2 separate regions of the Homo sapiens genome follow, and region 2 is linked to region 1. Evidence: promoter capture Hi-C in human tissues and cell types (Jung and others, 2019). All regions are on one chromosome and are shown on one strand. The core of a region is centred on a gene start or on the middle of the fragment in contact, and the rest is flanking DNA. Distances in the headings are between cores, read along the strand shown.

Region 1 (7,279 bases), core at 2,911-5,410:
TTAAAAACAAACACACATTAAGAAAAATATTTTAATACCTTTTCATCCATATAAAATTTTTTGAGAGCCTCTGTACGTGTGGTCTGAGTGAACACGTGCAATAAAGGATGTGGGGACATATGCTCATGTTTCAGTCACTGATTTGGTGATATGCAAAAATAACAACTGCTTATGTTAACCATTATAGTCTTAAAGTGTTTGTCTTCTCATTTATATATAATTTATACCCATTTTGGACTAGTGATTAACTAGAGGAAATATGAGGAAAAATAATGTTGAGCTCAAAATAAATAAACATGATAAGTAGACTGGCATTAATCACGTATGCTTGGCTCATGTTGCACTTAAGAAATTGTATTCATTTCATCATATTCTGGTATTTCAAAAATGTTGTTAAAATATACAGTGACAATTTTACTCCCAGTTTTATTTCATTTCTGAGGATAGACACCATATACCTGGTTATAAAAAATTGAGAAGTGCTTACAAATAGAAGCCTGAGTCTTTCCCTTTCCAACATTATTTAAATTCTTTAACTATGAAATGCTAACATTCTAAAGAATGTGTTTTGAAAACCGGTTTTGTTCATTTTCACACCCTAACAAGTCCTAAAATTTTACTCCGTATTTTAATATATATTTGGTGAACAAGCCAAACATGGCATAATTCAGCATTTAAAAAATTATGTGTTCAATAAATTGTGGTTTTCATAATTAATTTTAAATAAATTAAATGGTACGTGCTTTTTATTGGCTGGGAATAAATACGTATCTGTTTTATATGTTATTTATATTAATTTATATCATAGTATTTAAAATAAATTTAATAATATACTTTTCAATTTATTTCAGCCAGTTTTAAAAATTATTATGTAAAATATTTTTAAATATTCTGCAAATTTTAAATATATTACAAAATTGAAAGACTATTAATGAACACATGTATTCCTTATAGCTGGTATAGAAATTGAATATAATCTAGACATTCTTTCTGTGTATTTCTGTTAGTCCTATCCTCCCAGAAGTTAATAGCAATCTGAATTTTTGTTAAGGAAATTTCTTTATTTTATTTATTTACCACCTATGTATGCATTCCCAAACAATATATTATTTAGTTTTTTCTGGTTTTGAAATTTGTTTAAATATGCTCAAACATGATGCTTTTTTCCTTTTCAAACTTACTTTTGAGATTCATTCATTTTGATGCATATAGCTGTAATTTTACATCTTTATATATTTATTTGGTCTATGGTTGTCAGACATGTGGGTGATTTTTAATTACTGTTAAAAACATTCTTCTGCACGTCACTGGGTCACCACTTCAAGAGTTTCTCTAAAAAGATATATTTAGGAGTGGAATGCCAAAGAGCTTTCCAAAATGTAATGATTATAACAAATACATTCATACCCTCAGTGGATGATATTTCACAGCACTTCCATTCTTCAACACTTTATATTAACATCCTTCTTAGTATCTGCCAATCTGATGGTATGTGAATGTATATATTGCATTGTAAAATTTTGGTCCCTGATTACTGGTAAAGTTAAGCATCTTCTAATATGTTTAATGACAATTTAGGTTTCCTCCTTTGGAAAATTTATGCTATTTTTTAGTTCATTTTCTTTTGAGTATTTGGACTTTTATAAAATTGATTCATAGTAGTTCTGTATGTATTCTGGATACTAATCTTTTCTTGGTAAGATGTCCTGCAAATATCTTCCCCTAGTTTGCAGCTTCTCTTTTTATTAGCTTTAAGCCATTTTTTTGATAAAATCAATGGCTTCCTTTAAGGTGACTTACCAAAACTTTCTTTTATGATTAAAGATTATTGTGTCTTACTTAGAAATAACATATTACCTTTAATTTGCCTTTAATTTTATTTTTATTTTTTCGCTTTTAAATCTTTAATCCACCTGGAATTGGTTCTTGCTCATGACCAAGGTAAGAATTCAATTCCCTTCTACTTTTAAAAAACACAAATAGCCAATTGTCCCAGGATCACTTATTTAATAGTTTATCGTTCCCCCACTGTCCTACAATGCATCTCATATGGCCCCTGGTGACTCCCACCTTCTAGGATTCATGCTTTGTGTAATCACCTGCCCTGATTTAGTGACTTGGTTCTAGTGAATAGAATGTGGTTCTAGTGAGTAGAGTTGAAGAAGTATCATTTTGGAGATTAGATCATAAAAGGTGGTGCCTTCCATCTTGGGTTCACTGGCCCGATCTTACTGTCTCTTGACTTGGTTGCCTTGGGAGAAGTCAGCTCCCATGTTATGACACAGTTCTGTGGACAGGGCCAGGTCTGCCAGTAGCCATGTGAGTAAGCTTGGAAATAGATCCTTTCCCAGTCAAACCTTCAGAGGAGACCACAGCCCCAGCTGGTAGCTTGACTGTAACTTCATGAGAGACCCTGATCCAGAGGAATTGAGTTAAGGTGTGCTTGGATTTCTGAGTCACAGAAAGCATGAGATAATAAATGCCTCTAAGCCACAAAAGTTTGGAGTAATTGGTTATGCAGTAAGCAATAGAAACTTTTACATACGACTCTTCATATTTTCTATTTTTAGTCAGTTTTCACAAATTAATAAGCATTTGATAAATTATTTTGACAAATCATTTGAATATCTTGGCAAATGTTGTAATATCTCTTTTCATTCTGCTTAATCCATGTGCTTCTGTCATCCTTTCATTCCTCATGTTTATATGTGCCTTCTCACTTTTTTCAAGAATCATTTTTAAAGAAGTACTTCTATTTTCTTAGTCTTTTCAAAGAGCCAAATTTAGCATTGCTGACCTCTTTTCTTTTGTTTTCTCTACTTTATTATTTCAGGTTTTTACATATTTTTCAGTTCTTTGACAACTCTGTAACTGTTACGTTACATGAAAGAGGAATAATTTCCAGATTACAAATGTCTGGAATCTCAAAGGGCAAGGTTCTTGACTCCTTTCACAGAAGAGAAGGTCAAGATTAAGGAAATTTGTCTTATTCTTGGTTGTATAGGTTATTAATTAATGTTTGTTGAATAATACTTTGATATAATTCTGGGAATATCATCAGGAGAACTATTTCTGGTTCAGGAAATTCAGCTGTGCCAATTGACAAATGTTTGTTGGAGTCTAGGAAAAGAAATTCTATTTCTATATCAAAATATTAGAAACCATAGTCTGAAAAGTAGAAGAACTATGTTAGTTCACTAGGGCTGCCATAACAAAACAGAATATACTAGGTGACACAAACAACAGGAATTTTTTTTCTCGCAGTTCTGCAGATTGTAAAATTCAAGATCAAGGTTGCACAGGTTTTGCAGCAGGGTTTGGTTTCTGGGGCTTAGAGATGGGGCTGTCTTCTTGCTGTGTTCTCACATGGAGAGATAAAGGGAGAGAAAAAGACAGGCAGAGAGAGAGAGAGAAAGAGACAGAGAGAGAGATCTGATGTCTCTCCTTTTACAAAGATACCAGTTCTATTGCATCAGGGCTTCATCCTTATGGTCTCATTTAACTTTATTCACCTTCTTAAAGACCCTACTTCCAATACAGTTACGTGGATTGGGTGTGTTAAGAGTTTCAACACGAATTTTTGAAGGAACACAATTCAGTTCATGGCAAGAACTATGAAGAAACTGAGATTAAAATATTTAAAATTGGATATTTTTAAAAGTCTGAGATATATGGTTGTTAGGTTATTTCTCATTCCGATAATGTATCCTGAAACTGGGTAACTGGTTTCTACATATGTCCTAGGATTGGGCTATACCATTCACCTTTTTTCTCCTTTCCCAGGGTCAATCTTAGAGGTAGAAAATAGAGATTTGGCTCCCCCTTGTTCCTATCCAGCACTGTCACAGTGGGAAACATCACCATATTCTATTTCAACTAGACAGTTTACTCACTTCTAATTACTCCCTTTGCTCAACAACCTCCTTGAATAGGACTCATTCAGGAATGGGGTCCCAAAGGCTCCAAAGATATTTAAATTTCCACGTAGGAGAAAGCAATGTAGATATCAGTGTCTTGGAAGATGTCTGTGCAGAAGACAGAGACGCACGCTGCTGCATGTCATTTAGTCAGAGTTTATTTGGCTAAGAAGAAAGCATTCCAGATCATGGGTGGAGATCCCTAACCTCTAATATGCCAAAGGAAAATTTGGACTAAAAATCCTATACAAACAGATGATTAAATGATCATACTTTCTCTTTGTAAGTTACATAAGTGCCATCTTTGCCTCTTTCTCTCTCTTTCTTTCTCTCTCTCTTTCTCTCTCTCTTTCTCTCTCTTTCTCTTTCTTTCTCTTTTTTTCTCTTTCTTTTTTTTTCTTTCTTTCCCCTTCCTTCCTTCCCTCCCTCCCTCCCTGCCTCCTTCCCTCCTTCCCTCCTTCCCTCCCTCCCTCCCTCCCTGAGTCTCACTCTGTTGGCCAGGCTGAAGTGCAGTGGCACGATCTCAGCTCACTGCAACCTCCACCTCCCGGGTTCAAGCAATTCTCCTGCCTTAGTCTCCAGAGTAGCTGAAATTATAGGGGCCCTCACCTCTTTTTTCACTCCTCTTTTATGCTTTGTGTATCCAATGGAGAGGAAAATTTGGAGTCCTCAGTTTACAAAGTATTCTCAGAATTCAGAATGAACAGAGAGCATGGATCTACTGGCCAGAAGAATAGATCTTATTTGCTTGGTTTATCTTTGAGCCCATTGTGCTGGCCCATCAGCTCACAAACCCCATTCTTGTTATTTCACTTTACAATCAGGAATTTGGACTTGATTTTATATTATTAAAGTAACAGAAACTCTAAATGAGCCCATATGTGGATATCTTCATTTGATTCTTTCTTTGATGTATGACAGCCAGGACATTTTTGGAAGCAGTATAGATTATATGTAGCACTTGTCTTGGGTCTGATTGCTTTTTGGAATGTAGTGTAGAGCTTCTTCTGGAGTGCAGGTGACATGATTGTAAACAGAGAAATTCCAAATATACAGGAAATGGGCAAAAGAGAAACAGGTAGATGATCAAGTTGCTTTAGAAGACTGTGAGGAGAAATTACTATCTGATAGTACCACACAGATCCTTGCACAAGAGGAATGATATCCAATTCTTGCCAGGCATTGAGTGAGTTATCTTATTTCCTTCATCAAACGTTTATTGAAAAAGGCACTGTTCTTTGCACTGAGAGTATAATCGTAAACACAAAAAATATTTACTCTCCTAGATGTTATATTTGTGTGTGTGTGGGGAGGTAGCTGGATATATATTGATTTTCCATTGCTTACTAAGGAGGAGGAGGAACAACATTTTAAGAGCCTGGTGATGTCCAAATGAAAAACATGGTTAATACCGGGGTAAGATTTGACAAGGCCAGTAATGCCGTGATCTATCACAGATGGATCCATCCAGACCCGGGGGAAAGACTGATGTTTAAAAAGAAAAAAAAAGAATGTAGATGCCTAGTTCTACCAAGAACTAGCTGCCTTAATTTAGGAGAGTCACCTAGCCTTCCTACTGCTCAAATGTAATCTTTTCTGTAGACCTCCTCAAAAAGTGACTGCCAGGATTAGATGAACGGAGATCATGTTGTATAAGTGTTTTGAACTGCAAAGCAGGGATCAACCTTTATGATTCCCTTAAAAAACGTAGACATAAAATCTAACGTTGTTGCTAATAATGGCTTACAAATATGATGATTCCCGAATTGTGGTTCATATCTCCAGTGATATAAAAAAGCCCTCAAATAATCCTGACATTTCACATCCTTCTACCCCGGGAGGAGGAGCATGTGTTTGGATGGATCCTGCCCTCTCTTTAAAAATCTTTGCTCTAACAAGGTCAGAATATTGTTTTAATAATGGGCATTTGTATTTCGAATAAGTATAACAAAAATATTTGCTACAGAAATGTAGTTGGCTATGGCGGTTACATTCCAAGGATAATGCCTTGTAACTTGAATCACAAGCAGCCTTTCCATAACTTAGATGCAAATCACAGTCACTTAATTGACAAGTTTTATTTCTCCAGTATGTTCACTTGATTGACAGCAAGCCAAGGCATTCTTCCATGTCCTCAGCCTCCTCTTTCCTTCCTAGGACTGGCTTCCATGGAGGTGAAGAACTGCTGCATGGTGACAGAGTTCATCCTTTTGGGAATCCCACACACAGAGGGGCTGGAGATGACACTTTTTGTCTTATTCTTGCCCTTCTATGCCTGCACTCTACTGGGAAATGTGTCTATCCTTGTTGCTGTTATGTCTTCTGCTCGCCTTCACACACCTATGTATTTCTTCCTGGGAAACTTGTCTGTGTTTGACATGGGTTTCTCCTCAGTGACTTGTCCCAAAATGCTGCTCTACCTTATGGGGCTGAGCCGACTCATCTCCTACAAAGACTGTGTCTGCCAGCTTTTCTTCTTCCATTTCCTCGGGAGCATTGAGTGCTTCTTGTTTACGGTGATGGCCTATGACCGCTTCACTGCCATCTGTTATCCTCTGCGATACACAGTCATCATGAACCCAAGGATCTGTGTGGCCCTGGCTGTGGGCACATGGCTGTTAGGGTGCATTCATTCCAGTATCTTGACCTCCCTCACCTTCACCTTGCCATACTGTGGTCCCAATGAAGTGGATCACTTCTTCTGTGACATTCCAGCACTGTTGCCCTTGGCCTGTGCTGACACATCCTTAGCCCAGAGGGTGAGCTTCACCAACGTTGGCCTCATATCTCTTGTCTGCTTTCTGCTAATTCTTTTATCCTACACTAGAATCACAATATCTATCTTAAGCATTCGTACAACTGAGGGCCGTCGCCGTGCCTTCTCCACCTGCAGTGCTCACCTCATTGCCATCCTCTGTGCCTATGGGCCCATCATCACTGTCTACCTGCAGCCCACACCCAACCCCATGCTGGGAACCGTGGTACAAATTCTCATGAATCTGGTAGGACCAATGCTGAACCCTTTGATCTATACCTTGAGGAATAAGGAAGTAAAAACAGCCCTGAAAACAATATTGCACAGGACAGGCCATGTTCCTGAGAGTTAGTAAGAGCAGATAAATGGGTGCATGGCTCTGGAATTCCTTTTGCTTTGACCTAAGAAATTTCATTCTGGAATCTTCATATGTGACAATGACTTGGAATTTTCAGCACTGTGCTGAATGATATGGACCATTATGCTATATATAATACATTATCTTTTTGCAATATTTTATTTTATTGTCTAGGTTCTGCCTCTTCACCTATCTTCAAAGTCATATAGTCTTGTTTATTGTTACTTTGCCTTTCTTCTATAGAGAATT
Region 2 (7,279 bases), core at 1,591-4,090, 360 kb after region 1:
AAAGATACATAGATAGATATGCTCGAATATGAGAAGATTCATAGGAAATCAGCAACAACTGTTGTTTTTAGGAAGGAGATTTTAGGAATGGAATGATAAGATAGGAGGAAGACATATTTTCACTGTATAACCCCCATTTATATTGTTTAGTGCTGTACCATACGCAAATATTACTTAGTCAAAATATATGACTTTTTAAATGATACTTAGAGTTCATTTTTCTCATGACTAAGCAGAGTTCCAGGAAGATGAAGTGACTTGTCTCAGCTCATGGAAAAACTCAAGGAAGTGCTGATAATTACATAAAAGAATTATTGCAGGGTGATAACTAAAATGTAGTAAGTGCCCTGCATTTAATTCTTCAAAGACCCCACGAAGTCAGAATCATTACATCACTTTCAAAAATAAAAAAATTAATATTTAGAGACATTAAGTAATTTGCCCAAAGTCACAAAATTACTAAGCAACTGAGCCAGGATACAAAACCAACTTCATCATGTGCCTCACGAATCGCTGTTTTCATCTGCTCTCTACCTCAAATAGCCTATTCACCTCACCCACCAGACGCCCACCCACAAGTCTCCTGAACTCACTTCTCTTTCCTATTCCACGCTGACTAAAGAAAAATCTTTCCCACCACACACACACACACACGTACACACACACACACTCTCAGTCTTATGACTTCAAGCCCTTCGTGTCATACCAAAGAACAAAACTACACCCTCATCTAAACTTCCCTTTTTCCCAAAGAATATTCCCAAGGAAAAGCTCAGAAATCAAAGTGTCTCCCCAGCACTTAACATGGTTAATGCTAATCCAAAGAACCTTCCTTTGCTACTAATAAATTATTTAGATCAAAGTGTATTGATCTGGCGTGTTCTATAACTATCATTATATGTTGTGGGTTTACAACCCAGTCTTGGATGAATTATCTTTTACCACATATGTTTATATGAGTGCAGTCTGCAGTACCTTAAAATTCAATGGAAATTGCCTCTTTTAATAATCAGCTGCTTAGTGCTGTTTTAATAACTAACTAGATTCTCAACATTATTTACTTCGCCTCGAAAACTTCCAGACCCTTAGTTGATTATCCTAAGCCACATATTTCTCCATCACAGCTCAAACACCCAAACTAACCCTTGAAAAAGCTCTACATTCTGATTCTTTAAGTTTTCAAATGAATGTATGATTTCTACTCAGCATCTTTATAACCCTTAATCCTATGGAAGTCCTAATTCCCTAGACTGGGTTCCTAGGGTTCCACACAACCTCAATCTTAACTCAATGTCAGTCACATTCTACAAACTTGACACAATTCTCTTCTCATTTGGTGAAGACCAACTTAAGAAAATGTTTCATCTTCTATCCTCTTGAAAAAAAATGAAATATTTAAAAATTATTTATTGAGAGGTCACATTAAATTACTATGAATAGAATTAGGTTTTAATGTGTTAAGTTTTCTTACTTTTAAAAGGATATCTGCAAGGGCAGCAATGAAGCATGAAAAAATGACATAAAGAAAAAAAAAGCAGCCTGGAATTCAAGGACCTGGATTCCATTCCCAGTTGTGGCACCAAGTAGTTGTGTGTCCTTGAGCAACATATGTATTTCTGAGTCTCCAACACATGTTAATTGAAGAGACTAGATTAAATAATGTGTAAGGCCAATTCACGATTAAATGGTCTATGATTATAGAAAAATTTGCATAAAATGAAGAAATCCTGGAATAACTAGGTGAAGCAGAGACAGGGAGAATATGTCTGCACTTAACACTCATCCAAATGTAAAGATTTAAAATTCTTTTTCTGTACAAGACAGGAAAAAAATGGAACTTGAATCTCACTGAAAACACACACTAATAAGCAAAGCATTGTATCTCCTTCCTCCAATACTAATCCTTTCTTAAGAAAAGATTTTTCTGCCCAAAGTTCTCCTCAGGGCAACTTTGACATCCTTGTTCCTCAAGCTATAGATTAATGGGTTTAACACGGGGACTATTATGGTATAGAACAGGGAGGACACTTTCCCTTGCTCGAGGGGCAGGATGGAAAGGGGTTTGAGATACATGAAAGCACCAGAACCAAAGAAAAGAGAAACTACAATTATGTGGGAACTGCAAGTACTAAAGGCTTTGGACCTGCCTTCTGTAGAACTGTTGTGTAGAATGCTGGAGAGGATGAGGGCATAAGAAATAAAGACAGTGACAATGGGCATTCCAACGTCAACAGCCACCACAATAAAGACCACCAGCTCATTCATGTAAGAGCTGTTGCAGGAGAGCTCAAGGAGAGGAAGGATGTCACACATGAAATGATTGACAAGGTTGTCAGCACAGAAGGTCAGGTTCATTATGCTTCCTGTGTGGGCCATGGCCCCAGCAAACCCCATCCCATAGGCACCCAACAAAAGGAGCAAACACACCTGGCAAGACATGGTGACTGTGTACAACAGTGGGTTACAGATGGCCACGTAGCGGTCATACGCCATCGCTGACAGGATGAAGGACTCAGAGACGACAAAGAAGCAGAAGAAGAAGAGCTGAGTCATACACCCTGTGAAGGAAATGATGTTCTTCCTTGAGACAAAACTCATCAGCATTTTGGGAGTGATGGTAGTGGAGAAACAGAAATCTATTAAAGAGAGGTTAAAAAGGAAGAAGTACATGGGAGTGTGCAGGTGAGAGTTCAGCCCAATCAGGGTTATCAAGCCCAGGTTCCCCACCACGGTGACCGTGTAGAAACCCAGAAACAGGAAGAAGAGGGGGATCCGCAGTCCCGGCTGGTGGGTTAAGCCTTCGAGGATAAACTCTGTCACAGAAGAGTTTTTGGCTGCCATTCTTTTTGGTCAGGCAGGAGAGTCGGAGGGGACAAGAGAAGAGGACCACTTAGAAAGAAACATCACCACCACATTCTTAGTCTCTATCTCCCATTCTTAGAAAAGGAATCCAAGGAGAGAGATTTGAACTTTGGTAGGAAGGTTTTTACCACTCACTGTGGGTCTATCTTCACAGTCCGAGTGATTATAACTCCCAAAGTGTAATATGAGACTCAACTGTAACTGCAGAATGAGAGCTGGATCTGCTGAAGAAAGGGGTACCAAAAATAATCCAAATGTCTTTTAGATCCTTAGGTCAGTCCCTTTTCTATATCTTTCCCTCTCCTGTCTCTGCTTCACTTGGTAAAACCTGGACCTCTTCCCTGAAGGGAATCCTGAGATGCAGAAGCCACAGTGGCTCTGCTCAGAGCTTCCACCTCTGGGTCCACACTGTCAGATTAAGTAGGTGAGCTCATGCTTTTCCAAGATCTCTTAGCTCAAGTGGCTGTACATTTAATAATTTTTTAAAGCTGACACTTATTGAGTGGTTACTATAAGAGGTTCTGTTTGAAGAGCCATGTAGCAATATTATTATCTTCATTTTACAGATGAAACAAGTAAGATGACATAACTAGACAAAAGTCCCCAAACCACCTGCAGCCAGAAGGTGAATTTCGGCAGTATGGCTCAAATGGCTTGCACTTGAAATCACCATGTTACATAAGTGACCAGCATCGGGGCAGGCACTCACCTTCCTTCCCTTTAGAGCCATAAATGCTATACTCTACTGCCTCTTTTTCACATTCTGGGGAGGAAGATGACCCTAGTGAAGACAAGATGACAGATCTGAGCTCAAAGCCCTCTCTTCCCAGTACAGGTCAAAGGATCAGAACCTCTAATGTATCTCATAACACTTCCTGCACTGAAGGACATGACTTCCAATTGTTCATTTGCCCAAAGGCCTCTCCAGCTTCCAGGAAGGAGACAAAGCTTTTTCCTGACCAGTGAATAACAAAAGACTAAAGAGTTTTATTCTGGATTACAGACCTCAATGATCTGGCCATTAAGATAGAGACTCCCTCAAGACCACTTGCTTAGCAATTAGTTTCCCTAGAGAAGAAGAAATGTTTGTTTATCTCTTGGAATTGCTTGATTTGGCTTTCTACTAACATGTATCCTGTACTATTAAGAGAAAATCATTGTGAAAAAAATGATTGTCATTACCATTTCTTGAATACCCAATAATTTAGTACCTGACATAGTACCCTTATTCCAGCTGCCAAGATCCAGAGTACACATATACAAACATATCTTTATTTATTTCTCACAATACCTATTTTACAGGTAAGTTGCTCACAGAGACAAGATGTTTCAGAGTCCACAGGTATGCTTAGGTCTGTCTGACTCCAAGCCCCTTATGTAGCTGCTAGACTAAACTACCTCCCAAGGACAGCTACTGAAATCCATAAAGCAGAGCCCTTGCCTTCTTGGATCTGACAGTCTCTTGGAAAATAACAAGTAAATATTCAATGAATTTAAGTTTTAAAAGGAAGCAATTAGAGCCTGGAAAGGTTAACACAAAGGGCTATTGTAATTTAGAATAGGCTATTCAATAATTTATTCATATTCCACTCACCTCAGGAATTAATTGCACTACTCTAGTCCCAGCTCAGACAAGAACATACTTCTCTCGTTCCCCTCCCCTGTCCTCTCATGGAGTGTATGTTTAATGGTAACAAGAATCCCTATCAGGTAACTGCTCTCAATGTCTACCAAGACCAGCCTTTCTCTAAATTAATAACTAGTCAAAATTCCCTCTGGCTGTCCCTGCCTTCCACCCACTTTTCTTTGAGCACTTCTCCCAACTGACTTTCCATCTGTTCAGTGCCCTCAAACTGAGTCCTAGTAGACCAGACTCCCACTGCAGGAACACATCCACATTTGTTCTTCCTCTTTGGTTTGCATTTGTCTTTTTCTGTCTTTTACTCCATACCTCCAAGCTCTGCCTGGATTAAAATCGTCTATCCTATGTCTCTGTCTCTAAGATATTTACTTATTTTCTTTAACATCAAACCAACAAACTCATAAAATTTTAGACCCGAAAAGACTTGAGAGAGTATCTCATCCAGTGTTTCCCAAACCTAGCTGGTTATCACAATTATCTAAAATATTCATTAAAAAGAAATGCTGGGCTCCAACCATACCTTTGGAATCAGAATCTCCATAGATATGGATATGGTGGCTGTGTTTTTTTAAAATCTTCCCAAGCATTTCCAATGCCAGGAACTGATAGATTCACAGAACTATTATTTGCCCTCATCTTACAGGCAAAGACCTCTAAAAAGTTCAAAGAAGTAAAGCCATTCACCCAAGGTCACAGATCTCTTCTAAGTCTCCGCATTTCCAATCTCTCCTCATCCATTAACTCACCTGACCTTCATTTTGGCTGGAATGTAAAACACAAATAATGGAAACATAAGTTATGAGACTTTTTATTTCAAGTGTGATGGTATAGCTATTATTGCACTTACCCCTCTGACCACAAAAAAAAAGAAAGAAAAAAAAAGGCTGGAAAAAGTGTATAAAGCAACTATTTGCAATACTTGGAAAGTAGACAACACAGGGATGAAATTCTTGAGAAAAGGCAAAAAAACAAGGTAACTAACACATTCACCCCAACTTTCTCTAAGGCCAGTTTCTAAACGATGCATAGTAAAGTGATGCCCCAACAAATGGCAGCAGCTTCTACTAGTGGAATGAAAAAGTGTAAGGAGGCTAAGACAGCTGGAATGTGTGGGGCAAGGAATGGAGAATAAAAAGCCAAAAAAAAAAAAAGGACCCTCAGGTACCTGCACAAAGGACTCCCTTAAGTTCTTGGCTGAATCCTAAATTTTATATCTGGAGGGCAAGGTTCTACCGGCTTAGGAGACAACAGCTGCTGGGGGCTAAGAACTGAACAGAGATCACAGAGGATCCACAGTGCCTGATATAAATTAGAATTCTGACCTACTGAAAATGGAGAGGCCTTGGTCAGCAAACCAGGCTTTAAGTGAGACCCCTGAAAAGTCATACACTAAGAGTAAATACTATTCCTTTGTGCTAAGGGCAAAACTGAATCATAACAAAGGCTAAATCCAGGTCTTAACATGATCAGAGGGAACTACTAGTAAATTAACTACATCCCAGAACAAAATTTAACACTCTGTAACAAAGGCCAACATAATCCACTGTCTCTAAAACATATCCACAGTGTCCAATATCATAAAGTCAAAAATTACTGGAAACACAAAGAAGCAAGAAAATGTGACCCAAAGTCAAGATGGAAAAATATATTAGAAGCAGGTCCACATCTGAACTAGATGTTGAAATTAACAGACAAGGACTTTAAAATAACTTCTATAATTATTTTTAAAATATTAGATAAAAGGACAGAATTGGCTAATATGTGGTAAATTCCAACAAAGCAATAGAAACAATCAAGATAACCAAATGAAAATTTCAAAACTAAAAAATATTGGAAATAAAAATTCACCAGATTAGCTTAATAGCAGATCAGGCACAGTCAAAGGAAAGATCAGTATAAGCAAAGACAAATCGATAGAAATTATCTGTACTAAAATACGGACAGGCAAAAAGTAATATTAAAAAAGAACATGGTAACTAAAACATTTAGTGCAATGCTAAATAGTCCAACATATGTATATTTAGAGTTCCAAAAGGTGAGTCAAGGGAGAATTGGGTAGAAATAATTTTTTAAGAGATAATAGCTGAAATTTTTCCAAGTTTAATAAAATTTATGAATCTATAGACCCAAAAAGTTCAGGAAACCACAAACAAGATGAATATAAAATATACCACACCTAGGCATATTATACATAGTCAAACTGTTGAAAACCAATAACAAAAACAAAGCAGCTTAAAAGCAATCAGAGATAAAAGATGTATTGCATTCAAAGAAGCAAAAATAATAATAATTGACTTGTAATAAAAGAAATAGAAGTCAGAAGACAATGACATGACCTTTAAAATACTGAAAGGAAAAAAATTGTCAACCTAGTATTGGCAAAAATATCCTGGCTAAAATATTCTTCAAAAAAATAAAGGAATTTTCAGACAAAAGGTGAAAGAATATGTCACCAATAAGCCTACACTGCAAAAAAGCTGAGAAAGAGAGAGAGGGAAATGGTCCCAGAGGAAGGCTTAGATCTGCAGGAAGAAATGTGAAACACTGAAAATAGGAAATATATGGGTAAATATAAAAGGCCATTTTAAAATTTTCCTTAAATTTAAATTACTTTGACCATTTAAAGCAACAGAAAACAATTTATGGTAGATTTAAAATATGTGTAGAAGTAAAATATATAAAATGCCAATAACACAATAAAACATAATACGGTAATACAAATAATGCAATAAAAATAACAGAGAGAGATATAGTTAAAATTCCAACAAAAGACCT

Evidence for each region. Contacts are between HindIII fragments. The study calls those that stand out against the background at their distance.
Region 2: a contact is called between the fragment with the promoter of OR8B12 here and the fragment with the promoter of OR10D3 in region 1, in 4 of the 25 tissues and cell types used here (IMR-90 fibroblasts, heart left ventricle, mesendoderm cells and 1 more).

Annotation. Positions count from the first base shown.
Region 1 is chr11:124,179,185-124,186,463 of GRCh38, forward strand. It overlaps OR10D3 (olfactory receptor family 10 subfamily D member 3), which reads left to right and starts at 4,161. Exons shown (of 2, transcript NM_001355213.3): 1 at 4,161-4,199; 2 at 6,075-7,279. The coding sequence starts at 6,086. The coding sequence ends at 7,024. The HindIII fragment of the contact is 12,854 bases long and covers 1-7,279 here.
Region 2 is chr11:124,540,814-124,548,092 of GRCh38, forward strand. It overlaps OR8B12 (olfactory receptor family 8 subfamily B member 12), which reads right to left and starts at 2,841. Exons shown (of 1, transcript NM_001005195.1): 1 at 1,909-2,841. The coding sequence starts at 2,841. The coding sequence ends at 1,909. The HindIII fragment of the contact is 12,708 bases long and covers 1-7,279 here.